Regions from separate parts of the Homo sapiens genome. Here regions 1 and 2 are each linked to region 3. Evidence: promoter capture Hi-C in 16 types of primary human blood cells and fetal thymus (Javierre and others, 2016). All regions are on one chromosome and are shown on one strand. The core of a region is centred on a gene start or on the middle of the fragment in contact, and the rest is flanking DNA. Distances in the headings are between cores, read along the strand shown. Region 1 holds the start of TADA1 (transcriptional adaptor 1). Region 2 overlaps POGK (pogo transposable element derived with KRAB domain). Region 3 holds the start of MGST3 (microsomal glutathione S-transferase 3).

Evidence for each region. The method cuts DNA at HindIII sites, captures the fragments that hold promoters and counts their contacts. A CHiCAGO score of 5 or more calls a contact.
Region 1: a contact is called between the fragment with the promoter of TADA1 here and the fragment with the promoter of MGST3 in region 3, in 1 of 17 cell types (M0 macrophages). The highest score is 7.2, in M0 macrophages.
Region 2: a contact is called between a fragment that was not itself captured here and the fragment with the promoter of MGST3 in region 3, in 1 of 17 cell types (M2 macrophages). The highest score is 5.1, in M2 macrophages.

The regions. Positions count from the first base shown.
Region 1 is chr1:166,874,945-166,877,644 of GRCh38, reverse strand. TADA1 (transcriptional adaptor 1) reads left to right here and starts at 1,381. Exons shown (of 8, transcript NM_053053.4): 1 at 1,381-1,485. The coding sequence starts at 1,412. RefSeq lists an enhancer at 995-1,044 and silencers at 1,445-1,494, 1,525-1,924. The HindIII fragment of the contact is 11,749 bases long and covers 1-2,700 here.
Region 2 is chr1:166,841,849-166,844,548 of GRCh38, reverse strand. The region is part of intron 2 of POGK (pogo transposable element derived with KRAB domain); the gene reads right to left. Among named protein-coding and RNA genes, the nearest start is that of POGK, 3.7 kb to the right of the region's middle. The HindIII fragment of the contact is 449 bases long and covers 1,097-1,545 here.
Region 3 is chr1:165,629,832-165,632,531 of GRCh38, reverse strand. It overlaps MGST3 (microsomal glutathione S-transferase 3), which reads right to left and starts at 1,298. Exons shown (of 6, transcript NM_004528.4): 1 at 1,239-1,298. RefSeq lists enhancers at 624-793, 1,847-2,377 and a silencer at 1,224-1,463. The HindIII fragment of the contact is 6,286 bases long and covers 1-2,700 here.

The DNA of each region.
Region 1 (2,700 bases), core at 132-2,631, 1.2 Mb before region 3:
CAGCAGAGCGTGGGGAGCCATGGAAAACTTAAGTGGATATTTTTTAAATGTGTCAAAACTTACCCAGAGTTTTGACACAGAGAGGAAGACTTTGCCTGACCTTTGTATCTCCTTTCACCTGTGTATCTCCAGTACTCAAAGAGTTCCAGACACATAATAGGAGCTCACTGTATGAATTCAAGTGAAGAGAAGGTGCCCGGCTGGCATTGCAGCCAGGACAGGGCTTGTGGGTTTAGGTTGGGCAGTGAGGAAGTTGAATGAATGAACTTAAGGGGACATCTTTGGAGAAATTACACAAGATCTAAAAGCTATCTAGGATTATTTAAAAAACTTTGGGAGGCAATTTGACAATATACACCAAGGCATTTATAAATATTCCCATCATTTGATCCAGTAATTCTATGTGTGGGACTCTATGCTAAAGTAATAATCCTAAAGGAGGAAAAGTTTTATGCATAAAGAAGTTTTGCTTCATTATGCTATATGCTTCAAAAGCAATATTACAGTATTGCTTTTTAATAGAGAAGAAATGGACACAGTCTAACAATTGGGAAACAAGTTGTGTACCTTCTATCTGTGGGGGTATTTAATATGTTGTCATTAAAATTATTCTAAAGACAATGTAATACTACAGATAAATCCTTAAGTTTAAAAACGTGCAAAATTGAACATAGAATATTTTAAGTCATGGGAGTGTGCGAAGTGAAGGAGAAATCTCTCTCAGTTAAGTGTTTGTCCGGGAGTGGTAAAACACTTTTTCCTTCTTTTTATCTTTATCTTTCTGTGTATTTTCCAAATTTTACATAGTTACCTCATTTACTCAAATACTTATTAAGCATCCACTATGTGCCAGGCGCTGCTCTAGAGAATTGCGGGTAACAGTGAATAAAACACAACTCCTGTCCTCGAGCCATAACATTTACAAGATAAATCAACTAAATGTCATATGAGACGGTTAGTGCTCGGGGAAAAATAAGGCAAGGAAAGAGTAAAACTGATACTGCATTTACTTTTTTAAATGGAGGGGTAAGGTACTCCTCCAGGCAGAAGAACAGCAGGCTGAATTCGGAATTGCCCCAGCGGTAACAGAATGAAAGAGCTTGGGACACGCCAGCCTGTCAGCAACGTTGCAGCCGAGGCGGGGCGCGCGGGTTTAGGATGGGCGCGCGACAAGGTGAAGCGGATCACGTGACTCGAGGGGCGGGAGGAAGAGAGCAGAGTTTGGCCGGGCACCTTCCCTGCGAAAAGGCGGGCGGAGCCGAAAACCAAACAAACGACTTCTGAGAGATTGGGGGCGGGACTGACGGCGGCCGGCTTAGCTTCCAGAGCCAAGGCCTTCCGCCGAGTTGGTTTTTGGGTTGTTGATCGCGGTGGCCGGGCGGTCTGCGGTCGGGCTGAGACACGCGGAGCAATGGCGACCTTTGTGAGCGAGCTGGAGGCGGCCAAGAAGAACTTAAGCGAGGCCCTGGGGGACAACGTGAAACAGTAAGAGCTGCCCTAGCACAGCGTCCAGGCCAACACGCGGGTGCTCTCCTGGCCTCGGGCTGCCAGCCCGCCCCGGAGACGCCCGCGTCGCCCGGGGGCCTGTGCAGCCTGGAGTCCGCGGCGGCGGGGCTTCGGGGTTTCTCCGGCCGGGGCGGGGCGGGCCACCTGAACTCACCGCCCTGGAGAGACCGGGCCTCCTGGGCGCCCGGGAGACATCGGCGGGCGCCGTTGCTCGGGACTGTCTGCCCTGGGTGGGGCGGGAGAAGCGCACTTCGCACCCAAGGGCCTGCTGAGCAGGTGCGGGCCCCAGCGCGGGCGTGCGGGATGCGGGAGGCTGACTTGGGCGGAGTGAGCCGGAGCCCTACGCGTCCAGCCAGAGGGCATAGCGCAGGGCGGCCCGCCCCTGGAGGGCTTCCTGGAGGTGGAGGCCTGTTGAGCTGGTGTGATCTGCTACGGATTATTGGTAAGCTCTTTTGACAGCAATTTCGTAAGGCAGACGGACCCTCTGGTGAAATCACAGTCATTGAACACTACAATTATAGTGATGATAGCAGTAGCGGACATTTTAAACATTTTAAGCTCTCTAAATATATTATCTAATCCTTACAACAGATGTGAGATAGGTACAGTTGTTATTCCCATTTGACAGATGAGAAGACTGAGACCTAGTGCGGACAAGTAACTCTTCAAAAGTCACTGTCAGAGTTGGGACCCACGCTTTTGATTCCCGACTGATGCATTAGAGGGGCTGTAAAGGATCCCAGAGACGCTCAGCCAGACCTTCATCCAGGTTATGGCAGGGGACCTAGTGCACAGTCAGGTTAGGTGCAGAATGGCCAAGGGTAAAATCAGTATCCAGTCAAAGCCAAAGCCAAAGAGCAAAAAAGGAACCTCTGGGATACAAGGAAGAGTTTGGAAATTTTCAAAACGTTGTTATTACAACTTTATTTTTCAAAAATATAGGAAGCAAATATAAACGTTTAAAATTACAGTGCCTGTGTTGTTGCTGCTAGATGGCTTCTCTGGTATTCTACACATTTGCATTACTCAGTGGATGCATACTTTTAAATGATGTTGGTGGAGGAGCAATTTGGGAATACTTAATTTTTCTCCAATACTTTCTTTTCATCCTTCTCTGTTCTTTATTATTACTGGATTGAAATTACTTAGGTTGGATGTCATACATGAATTTTGGAGTTTTTCCTTCATGTGAAA
Region 2 (2,700 bases), core at 72-2,571, 1.2 Mb before region 3:
TTTGGAGTAAGAATGGACAAACATCCCTAAGTGTGAAATATGAGGAGGTAAAATGGATTCGTCTTCAGGCTTTCCTCAGACTTCCTCACCCTGGAAAGCCAGTCAGCCCAGGAATTTTCCACCCTACTCCTTTCCCAATTCCCAGGCTTTTAAAGAACTGTCTCTTTGGCCTTTTTTTCTCCCTGGGAAGTTCCAGATCTAGGTCATACCTATTTATAGTCCCTTTCCCTTTGCTGATAAAATGGGAACAGGACTGTCTATGCCTGTCATTTCAGAGGGGCCATCAATACTCTTAGGGGGGGTAACATATTCTAGGCCTGGTAAAAACATCAGGTACCAGGAGCCCTGAAGCTGCAGGAAGAAAGCTGGGGGCTGGTGCAGGATTCATCTCTTCCTATTAATGACTGAGCCACGGAGGATCTTCAAACAAGCCCACATTATGCTCCAGAGGCACAGTGTAGTGGCTTAGACATTCTCCTCACAGCAAGCCTCTGTGAGAATGGAGCGATCCTTCAGCCAGGCCCTGCTGCGCAGGCCTCCCCTCGCTCCACAGAGGCCTTTTATCTGGCTCAACATAGCAGAAGGTAAACAGGGCCGGCCCCGGGCAAAACTGAGAAGTCAGGCAGTCTGTGTACCACCTCCAGACACCCCTCCTTGGCCTTGCAGGTAGGGACCTTCAGTCCCTGCCCTCCTCCCTTTCCTCAGAAGATCAAGGGCTCACTGGATAAGTGTTCTTCCTCTAGCTTGTGTGCACTGCCTTGCTCTGCTCAGGAAGTTGGCATTCCAATGCTATCTCAAAGGGTAAATGTTGTAAAGTGCTTACACCTTGCACAGCCTCGCTAAAGCCTTGCAGCCACCCAGCAAAGACGCAGGGATCTCGGGGGAAGGGGTTGGGGTAGTTTGTACTGATCCACTGATGGAGTGCCTGCTATGGGCCAAGCACTGTATAGGACACTCAATCATATAAATATATTCTCTCACTGAATCCGCTAAACTAGGGACATGGGGATCACTACCTCACTTTTATGGGTAAGGAAACAGAGTGGTTAAGTAACTTGTCCAAGGTCACAGAGCTAGAAAGTCTGATGCCAAAGCTTTGCTTTCTTAGCAGGCCACTCAGGCCTTAGCATGGTGGCTGTAGAGAGCCTGAGGCCTCCCTTAGAAAGATGGGCTAAGGCCTCATTCCACAGAGCTAAGGAGAAAGCTCAAACTCGCTGGCGTAGCACTGCATGTCCTCCTGGCTGGCTCTGGCCCCTGGCCTGGCCTCCTATACCTGATCCCCTTCCACTCCCTGCCATGAGTTTCAGGTTCCAGCTGCAGGAGCTGCTCCTAACTCTGCACCCAAGCTCCTCTCCTCAGTGCTTTTGCCTGTGCTGTCCTCTTGCCTGGAATGCAACCCCCTTCCCTTCCCTTGGCTGATTCCATAATGACTAAGACTCAGTTCAAAGCACATTTTTTATTTTTTCTACTTAAAATTGTATTTCTATTTCAATTCTATGGAATTTTATCCTAATATATTATCATAGTTCTTATGCTTGAAAAGCTTTCACTGATCACCCTAACATAATTCTCTATAACCAAAATACATATTTTAAAAACAGATTCTTTTCTTCTAATGCTCTAGAGCAGGGTTTCTCAACCTCAGCACAACTGACATTTTGGGCCAGTTACCTCTTTGTTGTGTGTGTATGTGTGTGTGTGTGTGGTGGTGGGGGGGCATCCTGTGCACTGTAGATATCTAGCAGCTCCCCTGGCTTCTATCCACTAGATGCCAGGAGGATCTCCCAGTCCCCAACGCACCCCCACCAAGTCAGACCAACAAAAGTGTTTCCAGATATTGCCAAATATCCAGGGGTGGGGAAAGGGGGTAGTGTTTCTAGATGTTGCCAAATGTCCAGGGGTGGGGGCAAAATTGCTCACTGCTCAAGATTAGGCCTTGTCCAGGAAGCCCCGGAGTTCTCAGCCTGAATGAGGCATCCCCTCATCTTGGCTCCTGGTGCATCCTTGCAGACTTCCACCACTGCACTCTGCACACTGTGCTTACTATTACTTATGTTTACTTTCCTGCCTTGCTCACAAGACTGGAAATTCCATCAGGAAAAGAGTCTCTCTTTACGCCCAGCACTGTGCTTGGTAACTGTGGATGGATGGCTGATTGCCTGGAGGCCACAAATGCCCAATCCCCAGCACCACCAGCTGCTGGACTCCCTCCTCCAGCCCTTCTGGTTACTTCCTTCTTTTCCCACCTAAGCATGGTTGGTCTTCATCTTGCTCCTTCCTCACTGTCCCAACATTCACTTTCATTGCACCTGTTCTCCAAGGCTCTCCATTTAGATGTTCTGGGTTGACCAATCTAGCCTCAAAGCCCTGAGTTTTGACTGCCTTGAGTTCTTGTTCCAGGCTAAATAGACCTGACGCCTGCTTGGATCAGAATTGGGAAGAAGGATGTGGTGGGCAAAGAACACTGATGAGACAAAGGCAGCGCGGTGTCCACAGCTAGACTGGCAAACTGAGAGCCTGTGGTTGCACTGTTTTTTTTTTTTTTAAATTAAGGTATAGCATACATATGGTAAAATGCATTACTTTTAAGGGTGCAGCTCAGGAGACCTGTTTTGAAGAACAAATGTCAGTGTTCATGTGTAACCTTAGGGCAAGGCAGATAATCTTTCTGCATCCCAGTTCTCTCCTCTGGTAGGGAAC
Region 3 (2,700 bases), core at 49-2,548:
TTTTATATGTTAGTTTTAACTCCTTAAATTCATCTCCTATGAGAATAAACATTCTTGATCTGACTCAATGTGCTCTCTGAATTCACTGAAATAAAATATAGCCTGTAACTCTGACCAATAACCTGGGGTGCCTCCCAGAACTGCTGGCTCCAGGTGATCTACAGATTTCCCAAGAGAAGCGCTGCAGCTCCTACCCACCAGCAATCTAAAATCTGCAGCAATTCCGCAGGACCACACCTAGGCCCAACAGCACATACCTGCAGAGCCGGAAGCGCCTTCCCCTCCAGGGCATCTCCTGTCCCCAGGGAAGGAATTAAAGTTCTAACCCCTGCCTCTCCTTCTACCCATCCTAGTATCTGCTTTTCCTTTACCTCGTCTTCCACACTTACTTGCCCCCGACGCTATTATGTAGCTTGTAAACTCGTGACTCTCAAGGAAAGTATCAGCAGAAGCCACAACTTCGGGGAATGACTCACTAAGGAGTCTCCAGCGCCTTCCACCGCCCTGCAACTGCCCCACTACTGTAGCCCTACGGCTCCGTGCTGCCACCCCACATAAAGAAGGGGCATTTTCTGAAATCCAAGGAAGAACCTGAAGAGTCCCCCACCCGCCTAGAGGCGTCTCTTGCTCTAAGTCAGCGGTAGGAAATGACCACCTTCCCAGTACAAATGGACAAACGATTCTAAGAGGCAGGAGGAAAACAAACACAATTCCTTCAGAGGCTCTCCCGACCGTCCCTAGCAACACATCCCCACCGCAGCGGGTGCATTGCTCACAGGCCACTTCTGAAACCAGTGTTACTGATCAGGCCTGCACAACCACTCCCCCGGCAGTGTCCGGCTCGCCATCCTCTGCGCCGGAACAGCAGAGGGCAAGGTCGGGTGGTCTCCGGAAGGCAGAAAGGTGCCCCCAGACTGCAGAGCCCGGGGACAGCAGGAGAGGAAAGGAAGGAATGGAGGAAGGGTTGACCTTGAGAATTTTCCTGAGTTACACATAAATAGGTCGGGCCTCGCTTAGACGCTCCCAACCCACTCCACCAGGGAAAAGATGCAAGGCAAGGGGAGAGCAGAGAGGGTGGAAATTCAGATCGCTAATTTACTGATAAGGGTGGGGGGAGGTTAGAGACAGCGGGTCTCTATTCAGCTCGCATAGGCTGAAATATGGGAGTGCCCTGCGCAAAGGCTGAAGTGCCCCCGGCGGCCCGGTGCTCGTGGCTGCCCGCAGGTGCTAGCACTCACCTGGATCACCTTCGAACAGCTGGAGCAGAACAAAACTGCGCAGCGCGGTGTGGGTGCGGCGCCCTCGCCTGGGGCGGGGCTAGATGAGGCCAGAAGCAGGCCCCGCCCCAGCCGACCAGCGCGCGGCCACGCCCCCAAGGCGGGGCTCCTGGCGCTGGCGCGCGCTGTCTAAGTTGCCAACTCAGGGCCACTGGTTGGGAGGTGGAGGCCTAATTTTCTTCCTGCTCATGGTCGTCCAGCGATTTACTCCTCTCATTCTCAAAAACATATATCTACTCCCCCAGGTGCCTTCGTGGCCATCTTCCTAAACTGTCCCAGCCAGGTCATACCTCCCGGATTGGGTTTGCAGAACAGTGGGACGTGAATAATTTGTCCCCAGCAGAGCCACCGTAGCGGTTTTAGGCGCTCTGCTGTAAGGGCGAAGCACGGGCATGCAAGGCGCGTGCGCGAAAGTAGCCGCGCCTCAATCGATGTGTCCCTGAGGCGCGTAGCTGGGGCGTGGGCGGCGCTTGGTGTCCCAGGTTGCTACACTCCCGAAGTGAATGGATTTATCGCTGTTAGGGCCTTTTTGTTTAGGGCCTAACAAATATTGTTAGTTTTGCCGAGAGCTGGCGCCGAGCCCTGCCCTCGTGGTGGGCCGTACCCACGCCCCCTGAGCGCGGAGTCGCGTGGCTCCGGAGTTTTGTTTTTTTGAAAGGAGTCTCCCAATTGTCCGTGGAGTTTTTTTTGCGGCACATGGAGTCTCTGCCTTCGCGACCCAGACCTTTGATGTGAACACCTGCTCCCGTTACGCTCGGGTCCAGCGTCCGGGGCGGGGCTCGAGGCCGGGTGGAGGAGGGGTGGGGGCGGGGGTCTTGGTCTTGGGTGAGACCTGCAGATACGGTCGGGCTGAAGGAGTAGAACTGGCTTCTAAATGCCGGAAAATCCGAAGGAACTGACTGCAGAAGGCACGTTTCCAATTTTCGCGTGTTTTAAGTGCACCCTCCCGCCACCTCTCCTCTGGACATCCCTCATCCTTTTGAAGATTGCCACACCTGGGCCCCTCCTAGAGTCTCCTCTTTGGAGGATTCCTCACCTCCGAGAGAATGCTTAGGAACCCACCTGAATGATTCCAAGTTAAGGTGTGGAAAGGCAGAAATCTAGATTTTTGAAGGCTCTAGGTTATGTGTGTGTTTCTTTTTATTGGGTTGTCATATTTGCACATCTAGAGGTACTTTGAGAGCTCATTAAATCTTTACTGTTGCTGTTTCAGCAATTTCCAACCATTCTCATACTTTCTGTCATGTTGGGTTTCTGTCATGTTGGATGTAGAGAGGGCTTTGTTTTGCTTGAACATTGAAAGGAAGTAAGTTAGGGAGACAGTTTTGCATTATTGAGGCAAGTTTCTCCACTTGCTGGCTGTTCTACGTAAGAAGTCATTCCAAGGTGGTGGAAGGGATGATTCAAAAATCAGGAGCGGGGA